2 separate regions of the Homo sapiens genome follow, and region 1 is linked to region 2. Evidence: promoter capture Hi-C in 16 types of primary human blood cells and fetal thymus (Javierre and others, 2016). All regions are on one chromosome and are shown on one strand. The core of a region is centred on a gene start or on the middle of the fragment in contact, and the rest is flanking DNA. Distances in the headings are between cores, read along the strand shown.

Region 1 (5,712 bases), core at 827-3,326, 2.1 Mb after region 2:
TATGCTCTGCAGAGAAACAGAAAGATTGTCAGCTTGTTCATTTTCTTTTGATGCATATGTGGGTATATTCCCATTCATTTGTTGCTGATTATCAAATTTTCAACTCAGCAATAGCCTAAGTAATTACAAAAGCTAGATGTTATCTAGTACAGATACTAAACAAAATAGGAAAAGTTATAGATGCTGATCGTAGCAACTAGACATCTTTTAAATCTATTACTTTTTTATTTGAAATAATAATTGTAATTTTTTAATTTTTTTTGGAGACGGAGTCTCACTCTGTCTCCCAGGCTGAAGTGCAGTGGTGCCATCTCAGCTCACTGCAACCTCTGCCTCTTGGGTTCGAGATTCTCCTGCCTCAGCCTCCCCAGTAGCTGGGACTACAGGCGTGTGCCACCACACCCGGCTAATTTTTATATTTTTAGTATAGACGGGGTTTCGCCTTGTTGGCCAGGCTGGTCTCAAACTCCTGACCTCGTGATCCGCCCTCCTCAGCCTCCCAAAGTGCTGGGATTACAGGCATGCACCACCACACCTGGCCAATAATTATAGTTTTTAACAGACCACTTTTGTTGTGTTCTCTTCCTTTTAGCTGAGAATTATTGCTCATACATTTCCTCATTTGACTTTTTTTTTTTTTTTGAGTCAGCATCTCGCTCTGTCACCCAAGCTGGAGTGCAGTGGTGCGATCTCAGCTCGTTGCAACCTCCGCCTCCGAGGTTCAAGCGATTCATGTGCCTCAGTCTCCTGAGCAGCTGGGATAACAGGCGTGTACCACCACGCCCGGCTAATTTTTGTATTTTTAGCGGAGACAGGGTTTCACCATGTTGGCCAGGCTGGTCTCGAACTTCTAACATCAGGTGATCCGACCGCCTTGGCCTCCCAAAGTGCCGGGATTACAAGCGTGAGCCACCCCGCCCCACCTTTTTTTTTTTTTAATTGATAGTTTTCTTAAACCTAAGAATGTAGGGTCCAGAAGAATTTTTCCCAGCATTTCTTGGTAATCTTTTTCTCCCCCACTCCTTTACCAAAGAAAAGGGCAAGATGGACGTGGAGGTGAAAGGAAGAACGCAGAGAAGGGAAAAAAAATCAGTAGCAGATCCATGCAGCAGTAAAACCTCAAATAAAATCACTTCCAAAGAATCTCTTGCGGTTTCACACAATATGGTAAAATTAGAGATTGCAGGAAACCAACTAAATTAAACTGGGAGCATTTGAAGAGAAATGAGCAGACTTTATGAAAATGACACATTGACTGACCAGTATGCTTTTTTATCAACAATTTCTTTGTTAAGACGAAGATCAAAGGAACCTGCATATGTTTTCATTTTGTTCTAACTAGAAAATTACATCCAGATGTTTAATAGGCATTTGGTTGGTTTTTCAGCATTGATTAGATATGTTGGTTCTGTTTGCTTACAAGTGCAGCCGGATCATTAGCTAATGCAAAGAAATGTTTGCTGTGAGTTGCTAATTAGGGCTTTTGGAAGCCCTCCATGCTCAAGAACAATTTGTACTGTGGCCAGAAGAACTTGAGGGACTTGGGGAAGTTGTTTTCCCTTCTCTGTCAGAGTGGGGAGAAGCAGAAAGCCCTATTCCCTAATCTCCCTTTGCCTAGGGGGATTGCGATGAGATCCCCAAGGATTGGAGTGCAAATAAAGTAGGAAGAGACCACACAGGCACTCCCAAACATGGAGAGATAAATGTTCTCTTTCTGGAACCAGCACTGTGCGGTCTTTTGAGGTGGGGGGAGCGAACATCTAAAACACTGGATATTAACATGTGGAAGATGCTTGGTGCTAATGTTATCAAATACACAGCATTTTTAAGTATACTTTAGAGACAGATGGGAAAGCCCTTTATGATAAACGAGTGTACTTGAATTCGTTACTGTAGTACTTATAATTAAAAATGTCTCCTTTGCAATTTCAGTACTTTTACAGGATACGAGAGACCAAGCTTGGGAACTAGAAGGCTGGGGAGAGTGAAAGGAGTGAGGGAGAGGAATTTTGGAAGCTAGGGTGAGCCTGGGAGGAAATGCAGTGTTTACTTTCACAGCCCACCCATTCGTTTACCTTGTTAAAGCCCCAGAACTTGTACCAGATTAGCTATTCACTCAGTATTCAAATAAACTGTTTGGGAATTTGAGGAACCAGGCGGATAAACTTCTTAGCCCACCAATCACGTTTGTAAAAAAGCTTGACTGTGTCTGAGGCTTGCAGAAGAACACCACCTCAGCTGCGGCCGAACTTTTGTTTACTTAAGTCTATATTTCAAGAAAGATATCAGTCTAAAATAGCATGTGTTTATAAGCAATCATAGCAGTGCAGATATAAATCCCATTGTACGACGTTCTTCTGCCTGTTAATGCCCCTTACTAAGTCTGTTTACATCTTTTTTTCCCCTCCCCCCAAGACAGAGTCTTGCTCTGTCACCCAGGCTGGAGTGCAGTGGCACGATCTCAGCTCACTGCAACCTCCGCCTCCCAGGTTCAAGCAATTCTCCTACCTCAGCCTCCCGAGTAGCTGGGATTACAGGCGCCCACCACCACATCCAGCTAATTTTTGTATTTTTAGTAGAGACAGGGTTTCACCGTGTTGGCCAGGCTGTTCTCGAACTCCTGACCTCGTGATCTGCCTGCCTCGGCCTCCCAAAGTGCTAGGATTACAGGTGTGAGCCACCACGCCCGACCAAGTCTGTTTACAACTAATGCATATGTACGGCACACTCCTATGTATTAATGTTACCTGATTAATTTGGGATTTTCACACCAATAGGATATATTCATGATTAGTTTCTTTGAAGTAGTTCAAGCAGAGGGCCTTTCTGCCAGAGCTTTCCCTGTCTACCAGCGAGATGCCCCGGAAAAGCAAGAACAGTATTTTGGGGCTCGATGAAACACTGCCTGGAGTTCAGACCATAATAAAAGATCTCAGTGAAGTTTGTCCTGCCCCTCTTTGAGACGGAGTCTCGCTCTGTCGCCCAGGCTGGAGTGCAGTGGCGCGATCTCAGCTCACTGCAACCTCCGCCTCCCGCGTTCACGCCATTCTCCTGCCTCAGCCTCCGGGGTAGCTGGAATTACAGGCGCCCGCCACCACACCCGGCTAATTTTTTGAATTTTTAGTCAAGGCGGGGTTTCACCGTGTTAGCCAGGATGGTCTCAATCTCCTGACCTTGTGATCCACCCGCCTCGGCCTCCCAAAGTGCTGGGATTACAGGCGTGAGCCACCGCGCCCGGCCTTCTTTTTATTTTTTTAACCCGTTCTAAAGTCTGAGGAAAGTTGGGATTATACACTTTTTAAAAAAATTCATTCAGTTTAGCATTTAGCTCGACTGAAGCTGAAGAGCATTTGGTAGAAAAAAGAAAAAAGTAAAGGAAGCACCTTTGATGCTCCTTCCTACATATTCACATAACAAGAGCAGACCTGGGCCCCTTAATGTTCTCTGCTTGAGCCACCTTTGCTGCAGGCCAAGGACTTGCTAGGAAATCAACTTTAAACTGAGACATCTTTCCTTTTCCTTTAAAAGCTTTCACTTTGGCAGCATCATTTAAATAACTTTTCTTCCTGAAGCCAGCCATATCATTGAAGGGTTAAAGCTTGAGTTCAACTAATTGATGATCTTCAGATGTTCTTCAGAGCTGAAGGCAGGCGAACTCTCGGGATGGGAAGGGGACTAGAGTGCAAGTGTATGTTCCAGGTACCTTCACGTTTCCAGAATACAAACTTTAAGTCTAGTTGAGCAAGTTAAATGGAATAAATACAGAATGTTGGGACATTCTACAGGACAGCTAGCCTGAGCTATTTAAAAAGTTAATGTCGAGAGAGACAGGAGAGAAGTGGGGAAGGACTATTCCTTAAAAACAAAGATATATAATGAAAAAGCAATGTGTAAATCTTTATTGGCCCCTGGATTTAAAAAAAAAACATGCAAGATGTCTTGGGCAACTTTAATTTGGACTGGATATTTATAGATAGTATAGAATTATGCTTCTCCTTTTTTTGATGTTAGAATATTGTGGTTATTTTGGAAGATGTTATTCTGAGAAGATAGATGGTGAAGCATACAACTTCAAATAACACCTGCAACTGCAAATAAAAAGTGTATGTAGAGAGAGAAAAAGAAAGCAAATTTGGCAATGTGTTAACCATTACAGAATTTCAGGATAATGTCTATAGCTATTCATTTTACTATTCTTTCAATATTTCTATGTTTGAAAATTTTTCATGATGAAAAGTCTGGGAAAACAATTCTAGGTTCATTGTCTACATCTCTTTTTTTTGTGCATTATAATGGAATTCACTTCATAGTTAAAAGATTTACTTGTAATGTTTCTAGTAAAAAAAGAAAAAAGAAAAAGTATGAGGCCAGCCGCAGTGGCTCACGCCTGTAATCCCAGCACTTGGGAGGCCGAGGCTGGTGGATCACGAAGTCAGGAGTTCGAGACCAGCCTGGCCAACATGGTGAAACCCCATCACTACTAAAAGTACAAAAAATTAGCCGGGTGTGGTGGCGGGTGCCTATAATCCCAGCTACTCGGGAGGCTGAGGCAGGAGAATTGCTTGAACCCAGGAGGCAGAAGTTGCAGTGAGCTGAGATCTTGCTACTGCACTCCAGCCTGGGTGACAGAGCCAGAGCAAGACTCCGTCTCGGAAAAAAAAAAAAAAAAAAAAAAAAAAAATATATATATATATATATATATATACACACACACACACACACATATATATACACACACATATATATACACACACACACATATATACACATATATGTATATATGTGTATATATATGTATATGTATATACATATATATATGAAAAAATGATTTTTTCCCCTGATCATGGGAAAGCTGTCATACTAATAACCGAAGTATTACCCAGTGTTTTTGCTCTGGATCTTTTAGTAGTTTTATTTTATTATTTATGATATTTTATTTTTGTTTGGTTTTCTTCAGGAGTCCCAAATGTCCATTAGTTACCAATTAATATAAAATGTAAATCTTTAAATACATTAGGGTATTACATTAATAATCCTCTAAAGCATTGTTTTATGATCCATAAATCTCAGAATCACCAGAAAATCTATTATAAAATAAAGAAGAAAACTGTTTTATGTTAAGAATAAGGCAACAGCAAATAAACGTTAATTCCTTTATTCCTTTCTTTTTTTCTTTATTTCTTTCTCTTTTTTTTTTTTGAGACTGAGTTTCACTCTTGTTGCCCAGGCTGGAGTGCAATGGCGCGATCTCGGCTGCAACCTCTGCCTCCTGGGTTCCAGCGATTCTCCTGCCTCAGCCTCCCAAGTAGCTGGGATTACAGGCATGCGCCACCACACCCAGCTAATTTTCTATTTTTAGTAGAGATGGGGTTTCACCATGTTGGTCAGGCTGGTCTTGAACTCCCGACCTCAGATGATCCACCCATCTTGGCTTCCCAAAGTGCTGGGATTACAGAGGTGAGCCACCACGCCCGGCCTTTTTTTTTTTTTTGAGACGGAGTTTTGCTCTTGTTGCCCAGACTGCAGTGCAATGGCACCATCACTGCAACCTCCTCCTCCTGGGTTCAAGTGATTCTCCTGCCTCAGCCTCCTGAGTAGCTGGGATTACAGGTGCGGGCCACCACACCCCGCTAATTTTGTATTTTTAGTAGAGACGGGTTTTCTCCATGTTGATCAGGCTGGTCTTGAACTCCCAACCTCAGGTGATCTGCC
Region 2 (5,484 bases), core at 2,843-5,342:
CTTGCTCCAAAGCCACCTAAGGGGCTTCTGGAGGAAGCTGCTGGCTGCTGGGTGCTGCTGCTTGCTACCTGTGCTGTAGGAACCTGCCCAGTATGCAACCAGAGCCAGGAACCAGGAAACCAAACCCTTTCCTCCTGCAATGTCTCTCCAGCGCCTTCTATTGACCTAGCTTTTTTAACAGCTGGAAAATATTTAAAGGGCTCAGATTCAGTTTCACTAGGCAGGCAATGAGGATGAATTTGGAGCTAAGAGGCAACATATTAATAATAGCCACTTTTATTGTGAAATCCCCATATTCTGGCACATAGTAGGTTTAATAAATATTTGGTGAAGTAATAAATAAATGATTTACATCTAACCAAAGTGAAAAGCATGCTTGGCATATGTCACTTCAAGATTGGAGCTTTCAGGCCTAGCTTTTAACATGAAAGTTGCTGCCAAGTGCCTCCCACATGAAAACTCTGGAACACCCCACCTACCCCCCACTCTGTGGTAGGGATAAGACAGGCCTCCAGATAACATCATAGCTTGGCTCAACAGTTAGCGAGAAGTGCAATGAGAGAAGCACAGCAGAGAAAAGGAGAAAAAGTGGCCATGAGCCCCACTTACAGTCTGTGTTACGGCTAGGGCTGGGCCGCCAGTTGCTGCATTTGCATCTTTCTGAGACATTGAGGTGAGTTACATAGCTCTGCCACGTGGCCAAAATGTGAAACACATCCAAGGGCTATATTTTAATACAGAACTTAAAAAATAAAGAAACATCTTGACTTCTCTAGCCACTTTCCTGTTGACACAAACCATCGAGAGAGATTAGGGGAAAGATCCTTGCTATAAGTGATCTGATATTTCCTAACAGAGCAAAGTTTCCTCTTTGTCCACTGACCCTTTCAATAGTTCTTCGGGTTCTATTCTTAGAATTCTCGTTTCCTGTCCTGAGAGAAAACTGCACAGAATTTCAATAAATATGACCCAAATGATGTGGAAACTTCCTATAAGGATGCAATGAGGTATTCATTCATTAATGCCATCAACAAATATTTACTGAGCACCAACTACCAGACAGTGATGGCAGACATAATTTGGGGAGTTTGGAGTGCAACTGTGAACACAACCAGGTCCCTGTTCTCATGGAACTTGCTAACATTCTGGCTAAAATAGAGAACATGGAACTTCCTACAGAGGCACTGTGGGTGATTTCACAAACCATTGAAAAGCTCTAGTGGGAGCAAGCAACTAACCAACCTTAGAATAAAACATGGTTGTTGCTGGTGTTCTTAGAAACTTCGCTGTCCTCGTGTGCAAATTGTATCACTAAAGTCTTCTCACTTTTGATTCTTGGGAAGGTTTCAGGGCAGGGCTGTCTAATGGAAATATGTAAGCCTCATAATTTAAAATCTTCTAGGAACAAAGTTAAAAAAGTAAAAAGAGGCTGGGCACGGTGGCTCACGCCTGTAATCCAAGCACTTTGGGAGGCCGAGGCGGACGGATCACCTGAGGTCAGGAGTTCAAGACCAGCCTGACCAACATGGAGAAACCCCGTCTCTACTAAAAATACAAAAAATTAGCTGGGTGTGGTGGCGCATGCCTGTAATCCTAGCTACTCGGGAGGCTGAGGAAGGAGAATCGCTTGAACCCAGGAGGCGGAGGTTGCGGTGAGCCGAGATCGTGCCATTGCACTCCAGCCTGGGCAACAAGAGCGAAACTCTGTCTCAAAAAAAAAAAAAAAAAAAAAAAAAAGTGTGTGCCTGCAGTCCCAACAACACTGGAGGCTCAGGCAGGAGGATAGCTTGAGCTTCAGAGTTTGAGGCCAGCCTAGGCAACACAGGAAGACCCCCATCAATACAATAAATAAATAGAAACAGACAAAATTAATTTTACTAATATTTTTAATTGAGTTATTCAAAATATCACAATTTTGACATAATTATAAATTATTGAGCTGCAGTTTTTTCACATTAATTTTTTCAAAATGCCACATATATGTGTACTTACAGCACATCTCATTTTGAATTGGACACATTTCAAGTGCTTAACAGTCACATGTGGCTAGGTATGGAACAGCAGAGGTTCAGAAAACTGTCAAAAGGACTTCTCTGTCCTCTTATTTTGGGGATGGAGGCGAAAATATTTGCCGAATTGAAACATTCTGTGAACTTTGGCTCTGGGTTTTTAGTATGAAATTAGAGGCAGGTGAAGACCACCATAGCCTTCCTTTGCACCAGCTCACTACAGTGGCCAGAACGGAAGGAGGTTCACAGAACGTGCTAGGTTGGACATTAAGTCACCGAGTCATCCACTGAGGAAAGGGATATCATTAAGAAGAATAGTTTTCCACTAACGCCGAACCGGCGGCACCATCTCAACCAACAGGTCAAGTTACAGTAGGCAAGCACGCATAGAAATAAACGTCTAAAACCCAGCCTGTTACATTAGCCAACACTCTTCTTGACTTTTTCCGAATTTTTTCCCTGTCCCCAAGATTAGCCGCTCGCTAGAAAAGACTGCGAGCCTCAGCAGCCTCCCCTTGAACTGGGGCGCTGCCTCCAGCTGGACACGGACTAAGGATGGAAAGGCGCACTGACGGAGGCCGCCCCCATTTCCCAGGCCCCTCCCTAGGGGTGCCCCTCCTCAGCCATGGCTGCCCCTTTCTCTCCTCCTCCAGCATCTGCCCCTGGGGCCACCCCCACCTTTCCGCCATCTCTCGGGCCCGCGTGGCACCCTGCTCTGTTTTTAACGGGGATAAACTTGACTTGCTTCTCCAAAGAGCGGGAAAAAGAGGCGCAGTCTTGGTACTGATCTGGGGGAGGGAACGTCCCAGGGCGCGCAGGGGCGTTTTCTACCCGTGCCCCGTCGGCCTGCTCTGTTCAGTACCGACCGTGTTCGGGGTTCACGTGGCCCAGTCGGCAAAGTTTCTTTGGAGGTCCAGCGTCTCTGATTCCCGGATCTTCAGCCCCACCCGGAGCCCCCACGGTTACTGCCCCCCGCGACCCCCGATGGAGCGTCGGGATGCGCTTTCTCTCCGAGTGCCTCCGGGGGTGGAGGGAGGGAGGCCTGTTTCGGAACTAAATGGCAATCACAGCCCCCGCGGGGCTTGGAGGGACGAGCTCCCCGCCCACCCCGCGGCCCCGGCCCCAGCCAGCATCTCGCGACTCCATTTCTGGCTCTAAACAAGAACGGGGACCGAGTCGCGTTCACACGGAAAATTATGCCGGCTCCAGCGGCGCGTAAAATTGATGTGAACCGAACGAAGTAAGATCAGCGTGATCCTCCCCCTCTTGTCTCAACAGGGGTTTCGGCGCGTTACACAAGGCCGAGCTTGTCTCTTTAAGGAGACATTGGACCCTAATTAGTCCGCATTCCTGGCGCGGCTGCGGAGCGAGGGGCCGAAGGTGTCTGGGTTGGGAGACGGGTGGGCGGGAGGACGAGACTCGGAAGAAGATCTTTTGACCAGCCCCCAGGCTCACCGCTCCCTCCACCCTCTTTATTTTGCCGCCACCACCACCACCACCACCAACACCTAATTCTGAAGATGCAGCCAGGGCAGCAGCAACAGCAGCAGCCGCCGATTCTCCCAGCCCCACGTTACTTTGATTGACAGCTGAACAAATGTTTTCCCGGTTCGAACGCTCGCGCTAAGGAACGTCAGCCAAGGCGAAGCTCCGCCTTGGGCGGGCCATCTCCGCCCCGCCTCCGCCAACCTCATTCCTCTTCGTTAATTGGTCGGAGCTACAGGCGACGCCCGGCCCCCACGTGGGTTTCAGCTGGGTTGGCTCCTCCCCGCTGGCTTGCCATTTGTCAGCAGTGAAATGATGGGCACTAACACAGAACGGCGATTAATGTTCAGCCACCTCTGATTGGTTGGTGGAGACGCCTACCGCAACGGGGGTGGGCGGGGCGCTTGGAGAGCTCGCCAGAGCGCTCGCATGGCGGGCCGGTGATTGTAGTCAATCTGGCCGTATTCTCAGGCAGGGTCGCCCGGGGCGGACTACATCTCCCGGGATGCTGCGCGGCCGCCCCGCGGAAGATTGTGAATATGTATCAGAATGTTAATGATTAGCTGCTGCTAAATTTGGTCAAAGAAGTCACCTACACAGAGCGTGTTGTTAGAGCTGTGCTGAGCGGGTGTTTGGGTTGTTGGCTGCTTTCTTCCCCCTTTCTCACACACTTGTATATTATTTTGAGGTGGTGTTCGCAGAGTTTGAAAGGAGAGAGAATTAAAAAAAAAAGCCGCAAGCGTTTCACTCTTTTATTTTTATAATCCCCTTCAATTTGGGGTTAAAAAAAAGACAAGAAAACAGGAAGGAAGAGAAATAAGGAAATGAGATGTGGTAAAAGAAGCTAAAAGGTGCCTTTTAAAAGATCGTTGCTGTGAAGTGAAAAAAATCTCCAGAGAAACCAAAAAGCACCGCCGAGACCTCTTCCGAACCAAAGGAGTTTGTGTTTGCTTTTAGGGAAGAAGAAAGATCATTCATTCGGAGGAATAACAACCAATTAAAAGACAAATAAAAAAAGTTTGGAGTGGGACGCAGAGCGAGCGAGAGGAGCTGCCGGCGGGCGGTGGGGCGCGGAGCCCGCACTTTCCCGGCCGGGTGAGCGGCGGCCGCGGCGCCGGGCTCGGCGGGTGCGCCTCGGCGGAGCGAACGTCGGAGCGTTGCCTTGGGAGACGCGCGCCGGACAATGCCCGCGGCGGGCCAGTGACGCCCGCGGGGAATGCGGAGCGGCCCGGCAGCCGGCACCCAGCCGCCGCCGCGCGTTCCTGCCGCCCGTGTCACGCGAGACCCGGCGGGGGCCGGGACCGCCCGAGCCGCCCCTCAGACCGAGCCGGCCGCCTCCGCTGCCGCGGCCGCCTCCTCTTCGGGGTCATTAAAGCCAATGAGCCGCGCGCCTCTGCCGAGCGCAGCCAACTAAATCGGCTTGGATGATTCGCGACCTGAGCAAGATGTACCCGCAGACCAGACACCCAGTGAGTGCGGGCGGCGGGGCGCGGGCTCGCCGGGTGCTGGGGGATTCCCCGCGTCGCCCCCTGCGCACCGAGTTGTGTCTTTTGGCCGGAGGGGCGTGGAGAGCCGCCCGAAATCGGCGCCCCGCGCCGGGAGCAGCCCGCCCGCCATCACCCCCACCCCCCGGCGCGGTGGCCCTCGGAGGGGGTGCGGAGAGGCAATTGAGTTGTAGCCATTTTCTTATTGTTGTCTTTGAAGCCCCTGGAAGCCGCGCCGAGCCGTTTGCGGTCCCCGCGCCGCGACTCCTCGAGGGGGGGTGGCGAGCGATGAAGGAGGCGCGACTCCGCGCCCGGGCGGGGAGGGCGCCCTCGGCAGCGGCGCTGCTGGGCTGGCTGCGGTTTGGAAGTGCGGGGCGCCGGCCCCTCGCGCCGCGGGCCGCCGGGGCGAGCGGGCGAACGAACGAGCCGAGAGGGTGGCGGCCGCCTCCCTCCTCCCCCGGCCTGACCGCAGCCCGACGCCATGGCGCGGGTCCCCCCGACGGGCC

Evidence for each region. Contacts are between HindIII fragments. The CHiCAGO score rates a contact against its expected background, and 5 or more counts as called.
Region 1: a fragment that was not itself captured here is called in contact with the fragment with the promoter of TLE4 in region 2 in 1 of 17 cell types (total B cells); the score reaches 6.9 in total B cells.

The regions. Positions count from the first base shown.
Region 1 is chr9:81,692,567-81,698,278 of GRCh38, forward strand. All of the region lies in intron 1 of TLE1-DT (TLE1 divergent transcript), which reads left to right. Among named protein-coding and RNA genes, the nearest start is that of TLE1-DT, 5.7 kb to the left of the region's middle. The HindIII fragment of the contact is 239 bases long and covers 1,958-2,196 here.
Region 2 is chr9:79,567,873-79,573,356 of GRCh38, forward strand. It overlaps TLE4 (TLE family member 4, transcriptional corepressor), which reads left to right and starts at 4,093. Exons shown (of 20, transcript NM_007005.6): 1 at 4,093-4,963. The coding sequence starts at 4,919. LNCARSR (lncRNA regulator of Akt signaling associated with HCC and RCC) reads right to left here and starts at 80. Exons shown (of 3, transcript NR_184113.1): 1 at 1-80. RefSeq lists silencers at 2,565-2,614, 4,525-4,644, 4,705-4,864, 4,975-5,444, 5,465-5,484 and enhancers at 3,975-4,104, 4,115-4,164, 4,205-4,294, 5,022-5,484. The HindIII fragment of the contact is 12,449 bases long and covers 1-5,484 here.